Linked DNA regions of Homo sapiens: all the other regions are linked to region 3. Evidence: promoter capture Hi-C in 16 types of primary human blood cells and fetal thymus (Javierre and others, 2016). All regions are on one chromosome and are shown on one strand. The core of a region is centred on a gene start or on the middle of the fragment in contact, and the rest is flanking DNA. Distances in the headings are between cores, read along the strand shown.

Region 1 (2,838 bases), core at 122-2,621, 1.6 Mb after region 3:
GCAGGTTACAGTTAGCTTTCTACTGAAAAAAAAAATTTTTAACTATTCTTTCTGTCTGGAGATCTCTCTATAACTATTCACTGAAAGGAAGAAGAATACACAGGAAAAATATGTCTCTTTTGCTATGCTATTGCTGACAGTCTTGAAATTTAGTTACTAAGAAATGTGGGCCAGGATGCACCTGTATAACAGTTACAGCTCAACACAAAGTTTTATGTAACTGAAGTTAAGCTTTTTAAAGATAATGCTGGAAGATTTCAAAGCATCAATTTGCAGCTGTGTGGATTTGTGGTGGTATTTGCAAGCAAATTTTTCAAATCCTGGTAGACTTTTTTTTAGTGTGTGTGTGGTTTGTTTTTTTTTAATTGAGATGGAGTCTCACTGTTGCCCAGGCTGGAGTGCAGTAGCACGATCTTGGCTCACTGCAGCCTCCGTCTCCTGTGTTCTGGCAGTTTTCTGCCTCTGCCTCCTGAGTAGCTGGGATTATAGGTGCCCGCCACCATGCCCCGCTAATTTTTGTATTTTTAGTAAAGATGGGATTTCACCATGTTGGCCAGGCTGGTGGTCTTGAACTCCTGACCTTGTGATCCACCCACCTCGGCCTCCCAAAGTGCTGGGATTACAGGCATGAGCCACTGCGCCTGGCTGACTTTTTTTAGTTTTAAATAAGTTATCTTGAGTGATGATTTACTTCAGGAATGGCTATATGGTTAAAGATCAGAATGGTGTATGAGTTACCTTTCAAAGATTACTTTTCTGTATGTAGTCATAATGTGTGGGCAAACATTAATGTGATGTTACCCCTTTTACTCTGCTTAAGTAGCTGCTTGTTTAAGATCTTGATGACTGATTGGTTATATATGGTGCAGTTTTGTGTTTTAAAATGAGTATTACTTTATGATGAATGGAGAAAATGTTTAACCTTTTTTTAAAATGGGAAATATTTAAAACTACAGAAATAGAAAAGTTGCACCAGTTGTGGTCCGTGGACCAGCGGTGTTGGCATCATTTGGGAGCTTATTATAACTGTAGAACCTTGTGCCTCGCCCCAGACGTACTGAATCAGAATCTTCATTTTAACAAGATTCTAAGTGATTCTTATGTATTAAGTTCATATACATTTATATGAAGCTATTCATCTGGAGTCATAGCATCTTGCCACTTTGTTATTGATGTTGTTATACATGGTTTTCATTCTCTGCGAACCTCCAATTAATTGTGTCTTGAGCAGGACTAGCAAGAGGCTAGGTAAGTTTCGTTTCTCCGGAAGCAGTAACAATGGCAACTGATGATTGTTGAGCTCTTGCTGTGCCTTAACCTAGCATGATGCACATAGGGCATTGTGCATTACTTGAATTGTCACAGTTCATCCTCACAAAACTTCTGTGATGTATACATTGTTATGATTCCCACTTTCCAGATGGGGAAACAAGATTTATAGCCATTTTATTTATTTTTTTATTCTTTTTTAAAAAACTATTACCTAAACTCTATACTTGGATTTCATTGATTTTTCCATTAACTCCCTCTTTTCTGTTGTAGGATTAAATCCAGAGTGCCACATTGCATTTAGTTGTCACGTCTCCCCAGTCTCCTTTCATCTGTGAGAGTTTCTAAGTCTTTCCTTAGTTTTCATGGTCTAAACCATCTTGAGAAATACTGGCCAGGTATCCTGTAGAATGTTTTTGAAATCTAGATTTGTCTTTTTTTTTTTTTTTTTGAGACGGCGTCTTGCTCTGTTGCCCAGGCTGGAGTGCAATGGCACGATCTCACCTCACTGCAACCTCCGCCTCCTGGGTTCAAACGATTCTCCTGCCACAGCCTCCCGAGTGACTGGGACTACAGGTGTGCACCACCATGCCTGGCTAATTTTTGTATTTTTAGTAGAGACAGGGTTTCTCTGTGTTGGTCAGGCTGATCTTGAACTCTTGACCTCAGGTAATCCACCCACCTTGGCCTCCCAGAGTGTTGGGATTACAGGTGTGTGAGCCACCACACCTGGCCTTGTCTATTGTTCTTAGGATAAACTAGGGTTATTGGTTTTTAGAAAGAATACCACAAAGATAAAGTGTGCTAGTCACATCATATGGGAAACATGTTATCCTCATGACATTACTGGTGGTGTTAACCTCTCACTTGGTCAAGGTAGTATTTGCAAGTTTCTCTACTGTAAAGTTACTGTTTTTCCCTTTCCATAATATATTCTTTGGAAGCAAGTCATTTTGTCTAGCCTACTTTCAAGAGGGTTGGGATAGGAATTAAATTCCATCTCCTGGTGGGGGGAGTATTTACATATATTAAATGGAATTTCTGTAAGGAAATTTCTAAATCGTTTATATATGTATGGATTTATGTATGTGCTTTGAGTTGTAATCCAGCTTAGTGGATTACAACTCTATAAAATATATATTTGTATATATTTATGTATAATAGGTATTTTATGTATCTATTGTATAATAGTTGACTTTTTTGTTACTTAAATTGATCTAGCCTTGGCTCTTGGAAGCTTTTTTAGGTTGGCTCGTATGTTTCTTTTACACACTGCCTTACTTTTACCCTAGAATCAGCCACTCTCCAAGGAGCCTTGGTTCCATTTTTTTGGAGAATGGCATTAGAAACCAAGATTTGGGTACTGGGTGTGCTTGTTGATATTCAAGTGTCACTGCTTTTATTTCCTCTCAGTGAACAAAGTAGACAGAGCTAGGTAATATATGTAGATATATTATGTATACCTACGTATCTATAGTCATTTCTGTATCCTTACGTCTGTATACATATTATCTCATACATAAACGTGAGTTCATACCGATGGCTCCAACTCTAATCCTGTGCTATAGG
Region 2 (3,131 bases), core at 273-2,772, 1.5 Mb after region 3:
TAAAATTTTTACCAAAAAAGTCATATTATATAAATTTTAGCCTATTTTTCCCTTAGTAGTACATTATAATATTTTCACATATCAAAAAATATTATTCTATAATATGATTTTAAAGGAATCATAGTAATAATGGTGTTTTTAAGTAATTGAACAATATTCATCTTATGAGTAACTCCTTAGAGATAAAGCAACAGAAAGAATCCATAACAGCAAAAAGTGTAGTGAGCTTTTTATTTGTTTTTACATATCAAAGTAATTTTTGCCAAATGCCTACTGTTTGTCTTTTATGTACTGGGAAAACAAAGATAAGTTTTTAGAGCAGTTATAAGATAGGTAAGTTAGTCAAATATTATGTGATGGGTACTAAGACAGAGATAGTCCTACGCGGTACAGGAACACAGAGAAGAGGCCTCTAAGTAAGAATGAGAGTCACCTGTAAAGTGACACTAACTAAACTATTGAAGGACAAGGGGATTGGGAATTGCAGAACAAACAGCATAAGTAAAAGGACTGCCTAGAAACAGTCAATCATTAATTCACAAACTGGCTTGATCATAAAAATCAGTAGAGACTGCCAGGCACAGTGGCTCACGCCTGTAATCCTTGCACTTTGGGAGGCCGAGGCGGGTGGATCACCTGAGGTCAGGAGTTTGATACCAGCCTGGCCAACATGATGAAACTCTGTCTCTACTAAAAATACAAAAAATTAGCCGGGCGTGGTGGCGGGCACTTGTAATCCCAGCTACTCAGGAGGCTGAGACAGGAGAATCACTTGAACCCAGGAGGTGGAGGTTGCAGTGAGCTGAGATCACGCCCCTGCACTCCAGCCTGGGCAACAAGAGCAAAACTCTGTCTCAAAAAAAAAAAAAAAAATCAGTAGAGACATAAGCCCCACTCCTGGAGATTCCAATTTAATATGTTTAGGGTCAGGCCAAGAATCTGCATGTTTAATATGTCCCCAGAAATTCTTACATTCAGTCAAGGTTAAAAAACAATTCTAGTCCCTCCAACTGGAAACCTGCTTGTTTTACAATATAGCAGTAAGGAAGTAGCCATCCCTGAAGCTTGGAAAGTGGCCAAAGACAGAATGTGTGGGTTAAGCCTTGAAGTTTATCCTGAAAGATAAAGGACTGAATCTGAGTTTGCAGAGCAGATTAGCATTTTAGAAGGATCACTCTGTAAGAAACGGAGTATGATGTGTAAGGAAACCTTTTGAGGAGGCTAATGTAGCAATTTAGGTGAGAAGTCATTAAGACCTTAATTTAAAAAGTGGTTATGAGTTTAGGAAAGAGGAGAACAAGAGATACCAAGGAATTAAAAGCCACAGGGATTAGGGATTGATTGAGTATAAGTGAGAGTGACCTAGGAAGACTCCCAGGGAAGTGGATTGGGTGACTGGATAAGAGATATGCCATTTATGAAAATGTGGCATTCAAGTAAAGCGCAGGTTTGAAATACATAAGTTCACTTTTAGATATACTGAATTTTATTGGAAATTCAATCGTAGGTTCCATCGCAAACTCAAAACGAAGATTTGGCAGGAGGAAGTTTGTAATATAACAGTGATCGAAGTTGAACCCATGAGGAAGATAACACTTACTGTTTAAGCAGAAAAAAAGGGAACCTACAATGGAGACTAAAAAGAATTATCTTTTTTCTTTTTAAGGAAAGAATAATGCCACAGAAAACAAAGGAGAAGGACTCCAGAAGGAGAACTGCTACCGATAAATCAAACAAAATAAGGACAAAGCAAAGTTCCCTGAACTGTGCCTTATGGAATTCAATGGTGCAGGTATCAGGAGCATCTCCTCTGCACATGTTTCTGGTGGGCTTGGCCAATCAAATGTTTCCTTCCTAGGAGCTAAATCTTAAGTGGTGACACAAGGAGGAAAGGTAGTTGAACCTTAGTAAACATACATGATTATGCATGTCCACGGTTTCATTTCAGTGGTCCTGTACTTTCTGCCCTCAGGAAGCTTGACTGTTTAGTATTTTCTTCTGTTCTGCATTATACCAGTATATTTCCAATGAATATCATTTTTTCCATAAGTTGTTCTCAATTTGTTTCTTTGGCTTATAATTAGAGACCCAAAACTGCCAAGGTAATTTTACTTTTGCTTTCATTTTCAATAAGACAAACCACTGTTCTGTTTATTTTCTGAAGTAAAACAGGAAAGAGGGCGATGATTGATATAATAAAGTCATTGAGTACACAGAAGAGGATGGAATCCAATCTACAGGTTGAGAAATGAGCCTCGAGTTAGATGGGCACCTTTTCCAACAGGAAGGAGAAGTAAAAATGCCAATAAATAAGCGAATAAGTAAGAGGGAGAGGAAGGTGCCGTTTTCACTTTCTGCCCTTGCCTTTTCACAATGAAAAGGACAGAATCATCATTTGCTGAGTGTAAGAAGAGTTGGTGGTTTTGACAGTAAGGGAAGTAAATGTTTGGAATACCCACTGTCAGTTGATCAGAAGCACCTTCACCATAACTGAGGACTCAGCCTTGGTCAGAAAGCAACAACATACAGTGACATCAATTGGTATGGCTGTGTGATTTTTCTCCAAGAACTCTCAGCTGCTCAGTTCCAGAGTCAGAGAAACAGGATGGCTGGATTAAGAGTTGAAAGTAATATTGAAAGCATAATTTAAGTAGTGGACACCAGTGTGTGGAGCTGAACAGGGAAAATGGGAAGACAGAAGGAGACTAATTGATTAGGAGAAAATGGAGGGCTCAAAGCATATGGGGTCATGAGGTCAAAGGGCAGGCATAGTTCATATAAGGACCAGAAAGTTACCAAAAACAAATGGTGAGGAAAAGCAGATGTCTTGTCTAAACATGAAGCCTGTATCTGAATCTCCCTATGGATGGAGGGTTCACGTTTATCTACCTTCAGACTGCTCTACTCGGCTATCAGTCAGTCTTTCTTAGGATTCCTAATTTGTTTTTCTGACTTTCGCCCACAAGCTGGATGACCACTTGGTGGAGCTCCTGCAAAGAGAATGTCAGCCCATTGGTTAACAAGATACCCTGAAAAACGAGATTCCATAAAATTATGCAGTTCACTGTAGCCTAGTCCAGTAAATGGTGGACTGATTGAGAAATACTTTTTTAAAAAAATGTTGTGAGCTA
Region 3 (2,757 bases), core at 128-2,627:
AACGTGAATTTTGAAAACAATAAACAAACATAAGCTGCAAACCTACCCTCTACACTTATTTTATAATGAAATAAACTGCTAGACAGCTTTCCCTCACCTTATCTCTTTGCTGGCTTCTCCTAATGGTGAGGTCTTGGCTCTGTATGTCAACTCTTCAGGAAGGTGATTCTCTGCCACTTAGGTGGCAGATTAAAGGGCAATACTAGGAAACACTGATAGTAAGGAAGAACTTTTCTTCTCCTGAATTTTATAAAAATAAAATATCCATAAGGCACCTCTATATTACTATTAATCCACTCAAATATATATTGATTTCCTATTAAGTGGCAGCATTGTACAAATAATTTGTAAGACTCACAAACCTACTAAATAGATATCCTGTCTTTAAAGAGTTTGCATTCTGATTGGCAAAATTTTGACCAGTTAGGTATACAAAAATTTAGACTAGAAAGGTAGAAGTATTACAAGACAGAGTAGTCAAAATTCTAGGGAATAAAGATTATCCTCACTTCAGAGAAAGGGTGCCCTTTGAGGCTGACGTGGGTTGTAGGTCAGATGAAGAGATTTGGAGGTAGGGCACTCATTTATAAACAAAAGGCAGCAATTAGTTATAGGTTTAAATTGCTCCAAAGGTAACAGGCCTTTAAGAAAGTCAATATCATATTCTTAAGCAGGAGTCCCTGATGCTGGGGAAGGGGGAAAGGGTCACAGAAGTCAGCCTTGCTGGAGATCACCGGCCTGCGTATCTCAGGCCCACGGGGGTGCCCCACCGAGGCTTTGCCTCACCTGACCGTCCTGACCACGAAGTACACCAGCACCGCGCCGCTCACCACCATCAACACGGTCAGGGCCCGCTGGGTCATGGGCTTGTCGCCAGGGTTGGGGCTCACAGCAAGGCCGCCACCCACCGAGCCTTCCCCGGCCTTCCCTCCGTGATCGTCCGTCTCAAGCCCGGCCACAGGGTTGCTGCCATTGCCTCCCTCGGAGCCCCGCGGCCCCGCAGCTTCAGCCAGACCACGGCCCGGCTGCTGGGCAGGGGTAGGGCCCGGTGGCAGCGGCGGTAATGTCCGTGGTCTAGGGTCAGGAGGCCCAAGACCTGGCGCGGCCTCGGCTGCCTGCAGCAGGACTGCCAGGGGCCCGCTTAGTTCAGGCAGCAACAGCAGGAGGAGGACGGAAGCCAAGAGGTGGCTGAGACAGCAGCAGCACTGCGAGGCCTTCATCGTTCCCGGACCGCTCTCTCACCACCCGGGAGCCGCCAGGCCCGCCACGCTGGCTCCAAGAGGGACCATAGGCGCGGTGGAGAATGAAGCAGAGGTGACCAAACGCCAGGGAGAGGCCCGGTCGTGGCAGGTGGCAGAAGCTACAGCAGTGGCAGCTGCCCGGAGAACCGGAAGTTCGTACATCTCAGCGGCCACTGCTGCTAAGGACGCCTTCGGTTGCTAACTTGTAGGGGCGGATGCACTTGGTGACGTCAGAGGCCTAGCGCCCAGTGCGCACGCGCACTTGTGTAAAAAGCGAGGACGTGACCGTTTTGGAAGCATTGTTCTTTTCACTGTTAGTGAGGAGCGGTCAAGGATGCGTATTAAGAAAGTAAGTAGACAAAAAGAGATTGTGTAAAATGTACAGCAACTCTCTCATGCAGGAACCCTGAGAGATTGGAAACTCATAATCTGAATTCATTGGTGTCAAACTGCAATAACACATTTAATCTGTAAGCCAGAAGGGCTTAGTTTTCCTTAGCTTCATTACAAGCTTTAAGCAGGCTTTTTTTCCTGCCTATGGGTCCCTGACCTCCCTTTCTAAAGAGCATTTGCTTGTAATGAGTTCATGTCCTTTGTAGGCACATGGATGAAGCTGGAAACCATCATTCTGAGCAAACTATTAGAAGGACAGAAAACCAAACACTGCATGTTCTCACTCATAGGTGGGAATTGAACAATGAGAACACTTGGACACGGGATGGGGAACATCACACACCGGGGCCTGTCGTGGGGTAGGGGGGAGGGATAGCATTAGGGGATATACCTAATGTAAATGACGAGTTAATGGGTGCAGCACAGCAACATGGCACATGTATACATATGTAACAAACCTGCACGTTGTGCACATATACCCTAGAACTTAAAGTATATTAAAAAAAATTACTTTAGAAAACTTTACCATTGTAAGTTATTTCTCTTCCCTTTTCAGATGTAAATATTTTTTAAAGCTTCTGGCCAGTTATATAATTGAAAACTATCTCAAGGGTATGGAAAGCCATCATGCCTTTGAAATATAATCAGCAAGGAAGGTAGTGGGCCATCTCTTATTTTGTGTGAGAGGAAAGGAACCTAACTGTTGTAGGCTTCTCGCTTCAAGTTGTAAAACCACCTCCTGTCATGGAGGAGAAAATTTACTTTTCCTTTGGGTAAAGTCAATCAGCAAACTCAGGTGGCCGGTGATCTTCCCAAAATAGCTCTTAATAACTCTCCACTCCTTTTTTTCTTTTAGAGGAGTTGAGATTAGAAGAGTTTTATCCCCTTTCCCAACAGCAGTAGTCTTCAATAATGTCTTCCTTGCCTGTTTGACTTCAGTAATATGGAACTTCAATTTGTGCAGATAACTAGAAGTGGCCGCATGATGTACCTCTCACCAATGAGATGCCTGTCAAGGGTATACGTGGGTCTTTTGAGTAAGTTATTGTTTTCATTGCTAAAAGAGAGACAGATACAGGTAGATATATACAGAGAGAGAGCCAGAAACACACACACATGCATA
Region 4 (3,014 bases), core at 58-2,557, 1.8 Mb before region 3:
AGGTTGGAGAGAAAGTGTTTTTTTAAGGGAAGCTTTTAGAAAGACATAAGCATTAGAGGTGATTAACTTTGAATGGAGATGATCAAAGGGAAGTTGTGGTTGTTACTGGACTAAAAAAAGAGGTAGTATTAAAATTAAGAGGAACAAATACATGCTATTAAGGGCTAATTTTTTGTACAAGTTAACCCAAACATAGTGTCAAAACACTTTTAAATAAGTCATATTTGACATTCATTTTGACTTACTTCAACATAATATTAATATGACACAACATATTGTAGTATGACTTTAAAATATTTAAAATGCGATAAGTAAATCTTTACCACGTAACATTTTTTTCATCTAAGCAATCTTAATTTCTTTTAGATGAGTGTTATTTTAATGTTACCATGCAAAATAATCTTTATGTCTCTTTGAGACTTTGGGAGAGAGGCATTATTAAATACTGAGGAATTGTAGAAAAGTAGTTACTTAGCCTAGTAAAGCTCTTTTTATTTATTGACCAATAATTAGATAATTTTTCCTACGTTGCACTATATCTTTGTTTCTCTTTTCCATCTCCTTTCCCTCAAAGAAACCTTAAATGATAAAAATTCACATTAGCTGTAGCACTAAATTTCTAATTTTTTTTTTATTGGCATTTGAGAGAGAATGCTTCATCAAAGGACTTTGGTTATGCTTGGTAACTACTTACAAAAGCTGTGCTAGGAAAATGATTACAGTAGGACTCAAAGTGGACTTTACTTCTGGTTACTATTTTATCTTTTTTTCTTAGAATACTTTTTTCTTTAATGGAATGCTTGCCTAGATTTGAGAAGACCTAGGGCAAAGAATTTTAGAGGTTTTCAAGCACAAATTCAATACAGGAAGCTTTAATTTTGCTTGGCCTCTGAGTGTTTTTCCTTTTTTGATATTATTTTTTACTTTACGGAAGTCACTTATTTTTCTTAAATTTTACTTCTTTGTAACTGAAATGAATAAAGGAGTAATAAGAAGAGGTGATTTTTTTAGATTAGAAGCTATAATGGTGTAATAAAACAAATGATTCAATTTTAAATTTAATACATACAGTAAAAGGCCTAGAGCTACCTTTTAGCAATAGTTAATGCTCTAGATAAAACTATCACAATTTTTTATATCAGAGGCTTTTCAGTCTTTCTCATACTTCCTAGATAATATGAATTACCCTGAGCCAGGCTCAATGGCTCACACCTGTAATCCCAGCACTTTGGGAGGCTGAGGTGGGTGGATTACTTGAGGCCAGGAGTTTGAGACCAGCCTGGCCAACATGGTGAAACCCTGTCCCTACTAAAAACACAAAAATTAGCCGGGCATGGTGGCAGGCACCTGTAATCCCAGATACTTGGGAGGCTGAGGCAGGAGAATCACTTGAACCCAGGAGGCGGAGGTTGCAGGGAGCTGAGATCGGGACACTGCACTCCAGCCTGGGCAACAGTGTGAGACTTCGTCTCAAAAACAAACAAACAAAAAAAAATATATATGTGTGTGTGTGTGTATATATGTGTGTATATATTTGTGTGTGTGTGTGTGTGTGTGTGTGTATGTATATATATGAATTATCCTGGATGGTTGCTATTCCTGTTTAATACTGCCTCTTGGAAATCCTGATTCAGTAAGTTTGGAGTAGGACTCAATCAATATTTTTAAAAAATTACCCAGGTTATCTTAGTCTAATTTAGGACATACATGTCCATTTTAGTGTCTGATTACTTTGTAAAGCTTCTAACTGTGGATATAGAGAGAAAGGTTTCTTTTCCTTTCCAGATTATTGCTTTATGTCTTCCTTTAAAATAGGAGTTTCACAATCATCATGAAATGCTAGGTGCTCTAATGCAGCCAGTTTTGTTGAAATGCAAATGACCAAACTTCTGAAATAGAGGAAACTTACAGAGAAAAATAAGTAGGAAAAAAATGTGTCAATGAAATTTTAGCACAAACTCATTCTCATTACAAGCTATAGTTTGCTGGTAGGTAGAGGTTTAAAAAATCCATGTCCTTTAGCAAGAGAAAAACATGTCCAAACATTTCTGAAAGTACTATCTGCAGAGAACAGTTTCTAGAGGCATTAGGAATATGTTAAAAATGTGTTCAATGGTTGAATGAGTTTGGAAAAAAAAAAAAGAAGAACGCTAAGCAGTTGTCTTTATTGCAGCACTATAAAGCAAATGCATTCTGTGAATCTTTAGTTAGGGGTATGATATGTAGAGTTGATGAAGAGGCTCCGTTGTTATACTTGTCCCCTTCATCCTGCTTTCGCCCCTTACTTTGTCTTCCTCTAGGTAAATGAGGCAGTGAACACACTTTGGTAAAATCTGCTCTATCTGCTTTAGGTTTAACTATGTGAATTTGAAAGCCCTTGTTGAGTTTAGAAACTTTATTATGATCAGCACCTAGAACAGCATGTGATATAGACTAGGTCCTTAAGAACTATTTGTTGAGTTGTCACATATATTAATGAATGGAGTCCTTTGATGAGGTATATTAAGAGCCTAATGCCTTGTCCTTCCACAGAAGACAGTAAGAGTAGGTAATGGCAGATAAAGGCAATTTGGGATTCTCTGTCCACATTTTCCATAAACTTGGGCTAAAAAAATAGGGTAACATTTAAAGAGAATTTTCTCTTTCTCTCTCTTCTTCATCATATTTTTTTCTGGCGACCGAATTAGGACAAATTATGTTGTTAGAGGCAAAAATTATTTTCCGTAATCTTTTTGAGTAAGATTTGAGATCTGAAAAATTTGCAGTGTGAAAAGGAAGCTAAAATGAGAAGCATATTCAGAAATAGTAGCAGAATGCTTTGATATTCTACTTTTGGTTTTTGTCTTAATGACTTGCTAAGATGTTGATTTCACTTCAGTGCTTCTAAGAAAATTCTCTTTTAATGTTCCATTTTTTTAGCCCAAGTTTATGGAAAATGTGGACAGAGAATCCCAAATTGCCTTTATCTGCCATTACCTACTCTTACTGTCTTCTGTGGAAGGACAAGGCATTAG

What was found. The method cuts DNA at HindIII sites, captures the fragments that hold promoters and counts their contacts. A CHiCAGO score of 5 or more calls a contact.
Region 1: a contact is called between a fragment that was not itself captured here and the fragment with the promoter of FAM174A in region 3, in 2 of 17 cell types (non-activated CD4 T cells and fetal thymus). The highest score is 5.1, in non-activated CD4 T cells.
Region 2: a fragment that was not itself captured here is called in contact with the fragment with the promoter of FAM174A in region 3 in 1 of 17 cell types (non-activated CD4 T cells); the score reaches 6.8 in non-activated CD4 T cells.
Region 4: a contact is called between a fragment that was not itself captured here and the fragment with the promoter of FAM174A in region 3, in 1 of 17 cell types (monocytes). The highest score is 8.6, in monocytes.

What each region holds. Positions count from the first base shown.
Region 1 is chr5:98,919,679-98,922,516 of GRCh38, reverse strand. All of the region lies in intron 2 of CHD1 (chromodomain helicase DNA binding protein 1), which reads left to right. Among named protein-coding and RNA genes, the nearest start is that of CHD1-DT, 7.5 kb to the left of the region's middle. The HindIII fragment of the contact is 2,275 bases long and covers 234-2,508 here.
Region 2 is chr5:99,032,516-99,035,646 of GRCh38, reverse strand. No RefSeq gene overlaps it. Among named protein-coding and RNA genes, the nearest start is that of CHD1, 110 kb to the right of the region's middle. RefSeq lists an enhancer at 2,164-2,223. The HindIII fragment of the contact is 912 bases long and covers 1,067-1,978 here.
Region 3 is chr5:100,533,994-100,536,750 of GRCh38, reverse strand. FAM174A (family with sequence similarity 174 member A) reads right to left here and starts at 1,377. Exons shown (of 3, transcript NM_198507.3): 1 at 787-1,377. The coding sequence starts at 1,220. It overlaps FAM174A-DT (FAM174A divergent transcript), which reads left to right and starts at 1,508. Exons shown (of 5, transcript NR_172939.1): 1 at 1,508-1,590; 2 at 2,599-2,671. RefSeq lists an enhancer at 1,119-1,418. The HindIII fragment of the contact is 3,135 bases long and covers 1-1,754 here.
Region 4 is chr5:102,283,761-102,286,774 of GRCh38, reverse strand. All of the region lies in intron 2 of SLCO4C1 (solute carrier organic anion transporter family member 4C1), which reads left to right. Among named protein-coding and RNA genes, the nearest start is that of SLCO4C1, 11 kb to the left of the region's middle. The HindIII fragment of the contact is 870 bases long and covers 873-1,742 here.